5 separate regions of the Homo sapiens genome follow, and all the other regions are linked to region 1. The links are contacts of gene promoters, found by promoter capture Hi-C in blood cells and fetal thymus (Javierre and others, 2016). All regions are on one chromosome and are shown on one strand. Each heading gives the region's core, a stretch centred on a gene start or on the middle of the fragment in contact. The rest is flanking DNA. Distances are from core to core; before and after follow the strand shown. Region 1 holds the start of DLX5 (distal-less homeobox 5). Region 2 overlaps DYNC1I1 (dynein cytoplasmic 1 intermediate chain 1). Region 3 overlaps DYNC1I1 (dynein cytoplasmic 1 intermediate chain 1). Region 4 overlaps DYNC1I1 (dynein cytoplasmic 1 intermediate chain 1). Region 5 overlaps DYNC1I1 (dynein cytoplasmic 1 intermediate chain 1).

The links. Contacts are between HindIII fragments. The CHiCAGO score rates a contact against its expected background, and 5 or more counts as called.
Region 2: a fragment that was not itself captured here is called in contact with the fragment with the promoter of DLX5 in region 1 in 1 of 17 cell types (neutrophils); the score reaches 6.4 in neutrophils.
Region 3: a fragment that was not itself captured here is called in contact with the fragment with the promoter of DLX5 in region 1 in 1 of 17 cell types (activated CD4 T cells); the score reaches 6.4 in activated CD4 T cells.
Region 4: a contact is called between a fragment that was not itself captured here and the fragment with the promoter of DLX5 in region 1, in 10 of 17 cell types (endothelial precursors, activated CD4 T cells, total B cells and 7 more). The highest score is 12.3, in endothelial precursors.
Region 5: a contact is called between a fragment that was not itself captured here and the fragment with the promoter of DLX5 in region 1, in 1 of 17 cell types (total CD4 T cells). The highest score is 6.4, in total CD4 T cells.

Annotation. Positions count from the first base shown.
Region 1 is chr7:97,023,455-97,026,186 of GRCh38, reverse strand. It overlaps DLX5 (distal-less homeobox 5), which reads left to right and starts at 1,356. Exons shown (of 3, transcript NM_005221.6): 1 at 1,356-1,918. The coding sequence starts at 1,564. RefSeq lists enhancers at 1-207, 1,134-1,850. The HindIII fragment of the contact is 4,218 bases long and covers 1-1,836 here.
Region 2 is chr7:95,972,966-95,975,665 of GRCh38, reverse strand. The region is part of intron 6 of DYNC1I1 (dynein cytoplasmic 1 intermediate chain 1); the gene reads right to left. Among named protein-coding and RNA genes, the nearest start is that of DYNC1I1, 200 kb to the right of the region's middle. The HindIII fragment of the contact is 5,585 bases long and covers 1-2,700 here.
Region 3 is chr7:95,888,854-95,891,553 of GRCh38, reverse strand. All of the region lies in intron 6 of DYNC1I1 (dynein cytoplasmic 1 intermediate chain 1), which reads right to left. Among named protein-coding and RNA genes, the nearest start is that of DYNC1I1, 120 kb to the right of the region's middle. The HindIII fragment of the contact is 5,609 bases long and covers 1-2,700 here.
Region 4 is chr7:95,928,740-95,931,473 of GRCh38, reverse strand. All of the region lies in intron 6 of DYNC1I1 (dynein cytoplasmic 1 intermediate chain 1), which reads right to left. Among named protein-coding and RNA genes, the nearest start is that of DYNC1I1, 160 kb to the right of the region's middle. The HindIII fragment of the contact is 1,413 bases long and covers 614-2,026 here.
Region 5 is chr7:95,946,259-95,948,958 of GRCh38, reverse strand. The region is part of intron 6 of DYNC1I1 (dynein cytoplasmic 1 intermediate chain 1); the gene reads right to left. Among named protein-coding and RNA genes, the nearest start is that of DYNC1I1, 180 kb to the right of the region's middle. The HindIII fragment of the contact is 258 bases long and covers 1,259-1,516 here.

The DNA of each region.
Region 1 (2,732 bases), core at 107-2,606:
CTTGGACCCCGTAAAGGAAGATGTAGGAAGGCCCCAAATCAGGATCTAGTCCGCGGAGTTGCCTATTTGAGGGGAGTAACAATGGGGATTGGGAGAGACTTTTATGCTGAATTTCTAAACTCCCAGCTGAATCACGACTAGAACAAGGATAGCACCTCCTGAAGAGCAAAGTTTAGATCTCGTGTATCAACTGAATGATTCTTGAATCCTTTCTTCCCTTGCATACGAGCTAAGTAGGATGTCTTTGCAGCAGGAAATAAAGGGGAGAGGGTACAGAAACCCGGGTCTGGGAAATGGAGAGACTGGGCCACATTCATGGAGCCAGGAGGGGGAAATCAATGAGCATCATCTGACTTTGCAAAGGCTTTGATCCTTGTCTCCTTCCCCACTTCCGAGACTTTCCCATTCTTTCCTGGAGGTATGGCAGGTTATACATGGATCCATTCACCTTTGCGGGAGTCTTTGGCCACTGAACATAGTTAAAGAGCCTTTATTCCAATGTCTTGAAAATAGATGAAAATATTAAACAGAAGTGGAGCTGTTTGGCTCTTTTTGCAAGCCAGCAACGAGGATTTGGGCTTCCTTAAGTTATATGTGTTTAAGACAGTAATTTTTAAAAGTCATTATAAGGACTTTGGGCTGCAGGAACTCTCCCTGCCATTCACCGGCTTAATGGACATTGTGCCTTCTTGGGCATTCCTGTCCAGCCCGCGTCCGGGAGATACTCATCTCCTGCAAAGGAAGTTGCCTCTTTCCCCAAAGAGCAAATTTTCAAAACATGTAAGTTACAACTTGCTTCCCAACACTCCACTAAAAAAAAAAAAAATGCTGTTTCCCTTCCTTCTTGCCTCCATCCTACATCCCCCCGCTCCCCACTCCCTGCACCTTGACTCCCTATTTCAGTATCAGTGTTTAATTCTACACTCGCCTTTGGTGCAGCCCACGGGGGCGGGGTAGTGGGAAGCAAGGAAAGATGGTCGCCCACCTCATTCCCAAAACATGTGCACTTTTGAGGCTTCTGATTGGAACACATTGTCCCCAGACATCACAGAGCCTTGTGCTGTGGCTTCTGCGATGTCTTTGGAATTTACTAAAAACAGATAGACTAAGACCCCTCCCCACTCCACAACAAGCAAAAACACACACAAGCGCGCGGGCGCGCACACACACAAACACACACACCCCCTCAGTACCCCCCACCCCCTTTTTAAGCAATGCTTTGTTGTGCTAAAACTAGTTGGACGAGTTAGGGTGTTACTGTTGCTCCCGAGGCCCTGGCCAATAGAACCAGATCCACCCCGCTGTGCGTAAGCGCGCAATTAAGGATTTAACCAAGGCTGTGCTGCGCCTCAGCCAGCAGTCAGCCGGCCGGAGACAGAGACTTCACGACTCCCAGTCTCCTCCTCGCCGCGGCCGCCGCCTCCTCCTTCTCTCCTCCTCCTCTTCCTCCTCCTCCCTCGCTCCCACAGCCATGTCTGCTTAGACCAGAGCAGCCCCACAGCCAACTAGGGCAGCTGCCGCCGCCACAACAGCAAGGACAGCCGCTGCCGCCGCCCGTGAGCGATGACAGGAGTGTTTGACAGAAGGGTCCCCAGCATCCGATCCGGCGACTTCCAAGCTCCGTTCCAGACGTCCGCAGCTATGCACCATCCGTCTCAGGAATCGCCAACTTTGCCCGAGTCTTCAGCTACCGATTCTGACTACTACAGCCCTACGGGGGGAGCCCCGCACGGCTACTGCTCTCCTACCTCGGCTTCCTATGGCAAAGCTCTCAACCCCTACCAGTATCAGTATCACGGCGTGAACGGCTCCGCCGGGAGCTACCCAGCCAAAGCTTATGCCGACTATAGCTACGCTAGCTCCTACCACCAGTACGGCGGCGCCTACAACCGCGTCCCAAGCGCCACCAACCAGCCAGGTACATGGACAGGGGGAAGGCTGGGCAGATACAGGGCGACTAGGACGCTGGGGGCGCGAGATGGGGTGGTAGATTGGGGGTCACAGCGGTTCACGGCAGTGGGGGCGCACGCGGCAGAAGGGAGTAGGACTCAGACCCTCCAACAAAGAGAGTTTCTCGGGCCAGCATTTTAGGGATTTTTAGTAGGAGAGCCCTGTGGAGGTTCGAACTAGCGTCTCTCCCCTCCGGCACCTTCCAAGGCCCTTCAGTCGCTGAATTCCCAGCTTGCCCGGCCAGGAAGCCGGCTAGGCTGGAAAGGGGATAGGGGTGGAGAGAAGAAAGAATCAAGCAGCTCCTGGCGTTTGCGTAACAAAGAGAAGGTTACTTGGGAATTTTGGTAAGCGTGCTGGGTTGGTGCGAGTGGGAATAGAAGGCTGCCTCAAAAACTCAGTCAGGATTAGTTTGAGAGCCGCCACAAGCTAGCACGGTGCGGGTGCCCTGAGCACGCTGGGTGGGGGTGGGGGGGTTAAGGAGTTGTAGCCAGCCAGAGAAGAGCGCGCCGAGAGTTTTGCGGTTTATCCAGGCATTTCCAAAAACAAAAAGCCATTTAAAGGTGGAGGAGGGTTGCTGAGGGGTCACGTTGTAGGATAGATTTTTTTTTCTGTCTCCATAGGCGCCCACAATTTGTCTTTCCGTCCTCCTTTTTCGTCCGCTTTGAAACTTACTTAGAGAGTTTAAGAGGGTTAGTGAGCTTGGGCGGTAAGAGAAAGGCATGAGGCTCGGCGGAGAGGTTTTATTGGTAAGGTTTGATCTCTTCCCACCAGCACATTAATAA
Region 2 (2,700 bases), core at 4-2,503, 1.1 Mb after region 1:
TGTGTCCCCAAAATTCATATGTTGAAGTAATAAACCCCAGTACCTCAGAATGTGGCCTTATTTGAAAATAGGGTCACTGCAGATATAATTAGTTCAAATGAGGTTATAATGGAGTAGGGCACCTAATCCAACATGACTGGTGCCATTATAAAAAGGGGAAATTGGATGCAGACACACAAACATAGGAAGAACACCATGTGGAGATGAAGGCAAAGATCGGCCTGATGCTTTTACAAGCCAAGGAACACCAAAGAGTGCCAGAAAACCACCGGAAGTTAGGAGAACAGATTCTTCCTCACAGTCCTCAGAAGGAACCAAGCCCACAGACTTCTTGATCTCAGATCCTAGCCTCCAGAACTGTGAGGCATTACATTTCTGTTGTTTAAACAGCCAGTTTGTGGTATTTTGTTATAGCAAAACTTGAAAACTAATAAAGCCAGTAAGTGCATTTCCTTCTACAATCTTACAATTTAGTAGAAGGGATACAGGAGATATTCACTAACACTTAAGGCAGTGATGAGTGCATCACTTGTATAATCTAATTTATTTATCAGAACTTAGTACCATTAGCCCAGTTTTACAGATGAGAAGACAGAATAATTTCCCCCGAAGGAACTGCAACCACATCCCGCTTCAAGTTCTGTCTGGCTCTGCCTGTTTTGGGGTCTGTGATCTTTAACCACTATGCAAACTGCCTCCTGAACCACAGCATGATGTGAAATAGAAATGCCATGGAGAAAGGACTGAAATACAAGCAGCTGCAATGTTCTATTGCAAGGTAAGGAGGCTTTGCAGGGACTTTTTGAGGTGGACTTGCATGGCCTCAACATGGATTGTTCTTCCACACTCAGGAGGTGAACAAATACAAGTTGTAGCTGAGAAGGTATGCTTCTCACCCTTGAGAGCTGTACATAATGGATTATTTTATTTATCAGGTATTCTACAACCACATTCTGTTCTAATTTTCATTCTGGAATCCACTGCTTTGAGACCTGGCCGGCAATGCTTAATATGAAGTGTTAATTCCCCCAGCCAGAAAGATTCACAGCTTAGGTGAGAGCAGCACCCTAAAGGAAGTATTTGATCTTGTTCCAGGCTGGAGTCCACCACTTGCTGGCCCCTGGGTTTTATCCAATTCATAGGAACTCTCTGAGCCCCCATTTCTCATCTGCTGGAGTGGGATAATAATCCTTCCTTAAAACACGTTGTTGTAAGAATAACTAAGTAAAATAACCAATACAAAATTGCTTTTTAAACCATCAAGGTCATTGGGAACATACTTAAGCATAAATCTTCAAAACAAACATTGCCTTAGAGTCTAACAAATATTGACTGAGCACTTACTATGTGCCAGGTGCTGGGCACACACCAGGGAACAAGACAGACAAAATAATCTCTGTGCTCATGGAGCTTCCATTCCAGTGGAGAGAAACCAAAAACAAATAAAAAAACAAAATATATACTGTGTCAGACAAATGCTATGGGGGAAAATACAAAATAGGAAAGAGAGATTAGGCATTCTGGTCAAGAGTGGGAGAGTCTCAATTTAAAACAGAGTGAAAAGGTCCACCAAGGCCACAATGAGGTGACATGTGAGCAAAAACTTAATGGAGTTAAGGGAGTGAGTTGTGTGAAGACCTTGGAGGAAATAAGACTAATAACAAATAGATTCTTGCTTCTCAATCCATGGACGTGAGGGGAGTAATGGATCAAGGTCTGGATTCACTGATAATTAGTTATACTGACTATAGATAATAATTGTGCATTTATTAGAGCCATCTAGTTTGAGCACTTAAATCTTCTAGTTCTTAAAACTGAAAGTAGTTTTACCAAATGACTTTGAATTAGTCAGCTTAAATAGTAACAAGTTCTCATCTTTCACAGCTATAAGGGTGTTTATTTTAAACATTAATTCTCAGAAGAGTCAAAAAAGAAACACCATGACCAAAAATGCCACTACGAGCTTATTGGAAAAATATTATTCTGTGAAGGGCTTGGCTATAAAAAGGACTAGGTTTGTGATACAATGTCTAGGTTTATGCATAGAAGCATGTGAGGAAATAGCAGGTTATCTAATTCCTTGAATGGAAAATGCTTCCCCAGAGAATATGTTTTTGATCGGTCTAAAAAAACACTCACAACAAATATGTATTGTGTTTATAGTATGTACAAAGTCCCATAATGAGAAACTGTGAAAAACAGAGAAATTTAAAAAATAGTACCTGCCCTTTTAAAGTGTCTACAAACCAGTTGTAGGTATTAATTTTTAGTGGTCACAGAATTCTTTGTCTATCAGCCTTTTAAAGACATAAAGTAAGTGTTTTGGTGGATTTGCAAAGGAAATAAAACACAAGAGACTGGTTTGTTTCTCTGCATACTGATATGTTTGCCTTGCTCAGCAAAGAGAGTATATTTTTCTTTAAAACTCTGGTTTCCTTTCTGGTGCAGTTGGAATTACTTCTGTTGAAACCATTTTCAAAACAGTTAAATAACTTTAAAGAAAAGGATTTATGTAGACCTGCTACAGACTACTGATATATGAGTTGTGCCACTACTTCATACCCAGTTACGTTTCCTTTGAGATTGGAGGGAATAAAATTACCACCCATGTATGGCTTCCCTTATCCAGGTCCACACAAGAAATTAAACTAGTGGCAGAAGTTAATTACCTGTCAATCCAAGGGGCTAATTTCTAAACAA
Region 3 (2,700 bases), core at 34-2,533, 1.1 Mb after region 1:
GTGAACCAACCTGACACCAATAGTGTCCCCTGATTAAACATAAATTCAGGTATCTCCTCCAAGCCCAGATGCCCAGAGACATCTACAAAGGCAAAAGTGGACATGAAGCAGAGGTTAAGAGTGCATTTTACTCTGTTTGCTTCTCTTACTTTACTATCACTTTTGATTTTTACCCTTAGACCAAACGCAAAACCGTTGAATACATTTTCTAAATAGCTATTTTATTTTGAAGCCCACAATCTGTATTAGCTTGCTAGACCCATAACAGAGGACCACAGACTAGGGAGATCAAACATCGGAAATATATTTCTTCGTAGTCTTGGGGCTAGAAATCCAAGTGAAGGTGTCAGCAGGCTGGTTTCTTCTGAGTCCTCTTTCCTTGGCTTGTAGATGACCACCTTCTCCCTGTTTTTTTCACATGGGCTTTCCTCTGTGTGTGCCTGGGTCCTAATTTCCCCTTCCTATAAGGACACTAGTCATATGTTGGATGAAGGCCCACTCTAATGACCTCATTTTAACTTAATTACTTCTTTAAGGACCCTATCTTTAAACACAGTCACATTCTGAGGTACTGGGGATGAGGACTTCAGCATATGAAATTTGGGGGATACACAATTCAGCACATCACATCCACTAAAAATCACTTGTAGGTTTACTTCCTGTTACATCATAGATTTTTTTCTAATAAACTACGTTCAGGAAGAATTTTAATAAACCAACAGTTTTCAAACTGGTGCCCAGACCAGAGAACCTGTTCGAAATGCAGATTTTAGGGATCCATCCCAAACCTTCTGAATCAGAAATTCTGAGGGTGGGGGCTGAGCAACCTAATTTTTATTAACATACCTTTCTGGTGACTGCGATGCACACTGAAGTGTGAGAACCTCTGAAATTAACCAAATGGCAATTTTAACATACTTTAAAGAGCATCTCATTAATTTAATTTTATTTATTTTTTAAACTTTTATTTTAGGTACAGTGGTGCATCTGAAGGTTTTTTATATGGGTAAATTTGTGTCACAGGGGTTTGTTGAACAGATTACTTTCTCACTCAGGTACCAAGCCTAGTACCCAATAGTTACTTTTTCTGATCCTCTCCCTTCCTCCTCCTCTCACCCTCCACCGTCAAGGAGGCCCCAGTATCTGTTGTTCCCCTCTATGTGTCCATGTGTTCTCATCATTTAAGTCCCACTTAAAGTGAGAACATGTGGTATTTGCCTTTCTGTTCCTGCATTTTTGTTAAGGATAATGGCCTCCAGCTTCATCCATGTTCCTGCAAAGGACATAATCTCATTCTTTTTATGGCTGCATAGTATTCCATGGTATATATGCACCGCATTTTCTTTATTCACTTTGCCACTGATGGGCATTGAGGTTGATTCCATATATTTGCAATTGTGAATAGTGCTGCAATGAACATACACATGCATATGCCTTTATGGGAGAATGATTTATTACATCAGATATATCAGTAAGGGGATTGAATGGTAGTTCTGTTTTTCGCTATTTCAGGAATTGCCACACTGCTTTCCACAACAGTTGAACTAATTTACACTCCCACCAACAGTGTGTAAGCATTCTCTTTTATCCGCAACCTTGCCAGCATCTGTTAGTTTTTGACCTTTTAATAATAGACATTCTGATTGGTGTGAGATGCTATCTCATGGTGGTTTTGATTTGCATTTCTCTCATGATCAGTGATGTTGAGCTTTTCTTCATATGCTTATTGGCCACATGTATGTCTTCTTTTGAAAAGTGTCTATTCATGTCCTTTGCCTACTTTTTAATGGGGTGTTGTTGTTGTTGTTGTAAATTTGTTAAAGTTTTTTTATAGATACTGGATATTAGACCTTTGTCAGATGATGAATAGTTTGCAAATATTTTCTCTCATTCTGTAGGTTTTCTGTTTACTCTGTGGATGGTTTCTTTTGCTGTGCAGAAACTCTTAAGTTTAATCCAATTTGTCAATTTTTGCTTTTTTGCAATTGTTTTTGGTATGAAAATGAAATCTTTGCCAGTTTCTTTGTCCTGAATGGTATTGCCTAGGTTAACTTTCAGGGCTTTTATAGTTTTGTAATTTACATTTAAGTCTTTAATCCATGTTGAGTTGATTCTTGTGTATGGTGTAACATAGGAGTCCATTTTCAGTCTTCTGCATATGATAAGCCAGTTGTCCCAGAACTATTTATTGAACAGGAAGTCGTTTCTATAAGGGGTAATTTGAATGGAATAATGTGGTAGATTCTTTTTAAGGCAAAGAGTTCTTTTAAAAACGTGAGTAATCACCTTCTAATTTTTGTATTTTGAAAATTCTGAATTTTAATGCCAACCCTTTTTTATAAGGAGGCATATCAGCATGTCATTTGATTAAGTCTGATGTTCACACTTTGCAACAATTTTGAGTATACAGCCATATATATGTGAATATATATACTGCTAACTCTTATCTTCAGCTTGCTAATTTCTACTAGGCTCACTAGGTAATATCTCCCATGTTCTATTTCAATTTATTCAGGTCAAACCCCAATTGCAGCTTCCTCCAATGACTTCTCCCAAGCATTTCTCATTCCTTGAAAGGAGATTCCCCCAGGCTGAACTGAGCAATGATCAAAATTCCTTGTGTCACGTTACTTCAGAATTACCAAAATTACAGATTTAAGTGGAGGTCCTTCCAGTTTTTTCCTCTTACATTCTAGAATT
Region 4 (2,734 bases), core at 71-2,570, 1.1 Mb after region 1:
CTTTTAAGTTAAAAATGTAGTCATAGGCCGGGCGCAGTGGCTCACGCCTGTAATCCCAGCACTTTGAGAGGCCGAGTGGGTGGATCACTTGAGGCCAGGAGTTTGAGACCAGCCTGGCCAACATGGCGAAACCCCATCTCTACAAAAAATGCAAAAGTTAGCTGGGTGTGGTGGTGCAAACCTGTAATTCCAGCTACTCAGGCGGCTGAGACACCAGAATTGCTTGAACTGGGAGGTGGAATGGAAGTTGCAGTGAGCCGAGATTGCGCCACTGCACTCCAGCCTGGGCTACAAAGTGAGACTCTGTCTCCAAAAAAAAAAAAAGTATTCATGAGTTACTTCTATACTTAAAAACATATTTAAAAGATTAAACTGATAATAAAAGAATAATTAGAAAATATTTCACCTGACATTTAATGCAGCAATACTCTGAATTAACCAGTTTTTCTACGATCTTCCCAATAAGCATCACATGAAGCAATCTTCCTTCCAGGAAAATGCCAGGGCTTTGTTCTCCAATTAGCTGTCCTGTGAACACTGAAATACTGTAGCCTAGAACCTACAGAGCTAACAGACAAGAAACAATGGGGGCAGAATCCCACTCTGAAAAGCTTATGGAGCAACCAACCTCTCCAGTAAATGAGGACAAGCTACCCTGTTATGTTTCCTTTTTAAATATTTTTTTTACATCAAAAACACATTGCAAGGTAGTGAGGACTTTACGGACATCCTACCAAAACAGGCTGAATAATTCTGATATTGAAAACCAGCCTAGTTTTAATTAACTGCCAGGACTCAGCCACATCCTCAAGCTCCAGATAGCCAATAACAATCTTGTAATTTCTAAATGTGAATGCCACTCAGGTGGAGACCAAATAGTGAGGTTTCAGCTTACCTCTTAAATTGTAAACATAAAATTTCAGATATCCATAGCAACCAGACCTCCCTCCACCTTAGACACTTTCCTCAAGAAAAGGGAGGAAAAAGCATTTCTGCGGTGGACAGTACATAGACAGTTGCCCATTAAAATGGTAACATTGAAATATAAATAGCCCAACCTTTTCATCATTTATTGACAAATGACTTACCAAACTGCTAGTGAAATCCTTTAAAAACCTCTCAGATATGCTGGAAATTAAGACACCAGCAACAAGTTAGATTGACAAGTAATTACAATTAATGCCACCCCAATCATTAGTAAAACACATTTAGCTATATATTTGTAGGCCAATATTTAATAGCAAAACAGAATTCTAAGAACACCACTGTGCCCAAAAGCTCTCTGATCTTTACCAATTTAGCAACCAGCCAGGCTAGAATAGAATAAATATCACATGGTCTGGGAAAATGGGCTGTCCTGATTCTGAAAGATTGTGCTGGCTCTTGATATGGGGAGCCATCTGTCAATGCTCTTTGAAAAAGTGAGAAATCAGGGCTACTTCTCTAGCATTCGTGAATCTAACCTTCTGTGCTGTCACCCTTTCCTTGGGAAATATTTCTTAAGAGCCAGATGTTAGTATTCATTTCAGTTCACAAAACAGTTACTTCCCAAGGTCTATCAGCAGCAGAATGGATAAATAAATAATGGCATAGTCACACAGTGAAATACTACATAGTCATGGTAGTGAATGAACCACATCTACATACAACAGCATGAATGCTTCTGAAACATAATGTGAAATGAAAGATGTTAGCCATGAATGCATATGTACCATATGATGACATTTGTAGAAAATTTAATAAGGGGCATAACTAATCTATGATGTAGTGGTTACCCTTGGGGGAGGAGAGACTGAATATGGACTTCTGGGTTTCTCCTTATATTCTGAATCTTGATCTGAAGACTGGTTTCATGGTATGTTCATGTCAAAAATATCAAGTTGTACACTCCTGATTTGAGTACTTTCCTGCATGCTTTTACGCTTTCAAAAAATTTACAAGCAACAACAAACAACCCCAGCACAATTGTTAATGAGCAGCATACTTTCCAGGCTCTATGAAGGAACTAGGAAAAATATGACAAGCTTTAGCCTCCAGAAACTTATATTCAAGTAGGAGAGATGAGTATAAAAAGCAAAACCATATCATTTTATGTAATAAGGTTACATAAAACATAAAAAGTATTACATATTACAGTGTTAGGTAAAGGGAGTTCCAGGAGCAATTTCTTCTGCTCTCATTGTGAGCAAAGATCACAGTAGGTGACACTCAGCCAGCCTTTGAGGACTGAGTTCAATAAATACAGGGTGAAGGAAAGGGATATTCTAGGCATGGGCACCCTGGGAGGTTAGGGCATTGCAGGATGGAAGAGCAGAAAATACTAGTGATAGAATATGAAAATCATCCACATTGTGTGGGCCTGGACAATTAAAACATGCTCATCTTTATGCATTTGTTGAGTACATCACAGTTTTCCAAAGGACACTTTACTCGTACCCAGTTGCAGGACTCTTATCTTCAAACGAGGAGTATCTTGAACACTGTTGTATCAACTGTGTAATACCGGTAAGTTTGGGGACGGAAGGGAGGGAGAAAGGAAAGAAGCCAGGCTCACATAGTAATACTCTTAACAAGCACAAGAAAACAGCAAGAACCACCACTTATGCTTCATAATTTATATGCATTGTCTGTTGCATTTCATCCTCACAACTCTAGGAGCTGGAGACTATTATTATCTCCATTTGGTGGATGCCAAAACTGAGGCTTAGTGAAGCTCACTAACTGCCCATGGCCG
Region 5 (2,700 bases), core at 138-2,637, 1.1 Mb after region 1:
AAATGAAATTACAACATCATCCTATAAACCTGACAAAGACACTGGGTATCTGGATAAAGCTAACTGCCTATCTGCTATTAAAGAATTGCTGAATTGGTTGCTTCACCAACTCCTACTTCTCACAAAATTTCCCCTCAGCACTCCTATTCATTCCACGTGCTCCAGTTTTGCAAAACCTGTAGCTGGGTCAAAGTATGCCCACTTGTTTTGGAAGAATATTAGGAAGTACTTATCTCAAAGAGTTGTTGGGGGAACTAGGTGAGTGAGTACATATAAAGTTCCCACATAATCCTTTATGTAGACTAAGTACTCAATAAATGTTAGCTTTGATATTATTTCTACCTATGTACAGCCCTGGAAGCAGCCCAAGACAAGTTCCTCTGACTTATTTCCTTTCTGTTCTAAGGAATCAAAGGTGTCAACTCAAGAACCAACTAGTAAACCATTGAGGTTAACAAAGCCACTCCCACTGTGCCCACTACTGGATGTGTTCTTGGGACCTCAATAATGCAGCTTGAGTCCATACTGATGATAGATACAAGCATGGGTCTACTCGAGGAAACTGACAAATGTGGACAACCCCTGTCTATTGTACACACTTTCAGGCAGGCCTAGAGTCCCTCCCAGATCTGCAGCTTCAACCTCACTTTCATGTTGTTATCCAGAGAATTCAGTGCCTATCTTTGTCTGGGGTGCTGCCCAAAGCAAGTCTCACATACATGCACATGTCAGCTAAGGCCATCCTGCTCATTAAGATAGGTATACTACTGCCTTGAAACATCCAACGCCCTCGAAACACTTCTGAGGAACTCTAGGAGATGGAGGGATGGTGATGGCTGGTTCCTGCTTCCTTCCTCTGCTAAATTCTTACTCGCCCACTGTTGGTCATGGGGCTTTGCATTGATTTCAGCTCTGTTTACCACAAAATAGAACTTAGCCCCTTTCCTTGGTTGCTACCAAAAAAAAAAAAAAAAAAAAGCCACATACAAAGACCTGGTTTTTGACAGACTTTATTAAAAGTTTGAAAAGATGGAGAGAATTTACAGTGCAACAGGGCAAACTCCTTAAAAATACTTAGTGGCCTTTTCTGTTCTTGAAAGCTTCTCAGCCACATAACCGTGATGCTTGAAAAGGTGTTTTTCACCTCTTTTCTCTCAGCTATTCCTCTCAAGGGCAAACACCCACTCTGATCCTAAATTTCTCCCATTATTTTATGCAGAGCATTTCAGCTGCCTTAGCTCCTTTGCCTGTCTAAGCTTGGAAAAGAGGGAACTGGAGAGATATCAGGGTTTAGAGGAGGGATGGAAAGAAATCTGCCCCACCCCTCACTATGGGTGCATGCATTTCCCATGGGTGGAGTGAGTAACACACATGGAGGAGAGCTGGTCCTGAGCTATCCTGGGCATCTCCCACCCAAAAACCTTCCATTTCTAGGAGAAGGCCTCAGCAGCAGGGGGCTCTGGGTAGACCAATGGTGGCAGGACTCAAGAAAGGTAAGTGGAGGTGGAAACAAGCTTCATAAAGTGGTTCATGAAATGTTTAACACAGGCAGGGGCTGCCTTAGTGTTTTCTGGAACACAATCTGGTAATTACCTTGGGCTTACTGTTCAAAAGGCACATTGCTGTCAAAGAAGAGAGACCATAATGACACATACTAACACACACACCAACATGAGTTCATATTTACAGAAACACTGACGTGAGTAGATATTTACAGAAGAAATGCACCTAAGATTTTCACAGAACACTCACTGCGCTAGGTATTTTGCACACACTATTTTATTAAATCTTCACAAACTGTCCTTCATAGTACTATTATTATCCCCATTTTTACAACAGAGGAAATTGCAACTCAGAGAAGCTAGTTAACTTGAGCTGGCCCTTAAAAATACTAAAATTTCTACCTGTACCAGGGCTTTTGCATCACTTCTGTTTGGATCCATTCCCTCCAGTAATCCAGAACTGTCTTCCTTGTGTTCTCCATGCTTCTGTCCTAACATCAGCAGACCAGGGAGGCCTTTGTATCCATCCTATGCCAGAGAGCACTCTCCTCCCAACCAGCTGTCTGTCTCTTTTACTCCACTCCTTTTCTTCTCTATAGCACACACCACCATCTGTATCTACTTGTCTTCAATTTATTGCATTTCTTCCCCTGTCATTCAACCAAGATATAAGCTCTATCAGGGCAGGGACTGTACCTTGTTCACTATAGTGTTCTTAGCATCTAAGATAGGACTTGGCTCAGGGTATGCACTTACTAGATATTTGTTCAATGCATGAATTAATCAATGAATGAACTGTAAGTGTATGGACTATGACTCTGTTCCACCCAAATTTATTTTAAAATGGTGCCCTCATACTCAATGAATGAGGCTCAGAGCCTAGGTGACTATTGCTTACATGTTTGAACATGTAATGGATTGCAAGTGAAAAGAATCACACCTCTTTCTAGGGTGCTGATGAAGATTTTTGTGGAGGAGGTGGCATTTTTAGAGTTTAGTTATATTTATCTACATGTTTACTTCAGCACCTCATATCATCATGCTTATGTGCTTTTCCAAACACGCTAATTGAAGATTAAACAATCTAAATAGGTAGAAAGAACATCTTTTTGTCTTAAATATCATTCTCTCCATATATATTTTTAATTTTATTTTAAATTCCAGGATACATGTGGAGGATGTGCAGGTTTGTGACATA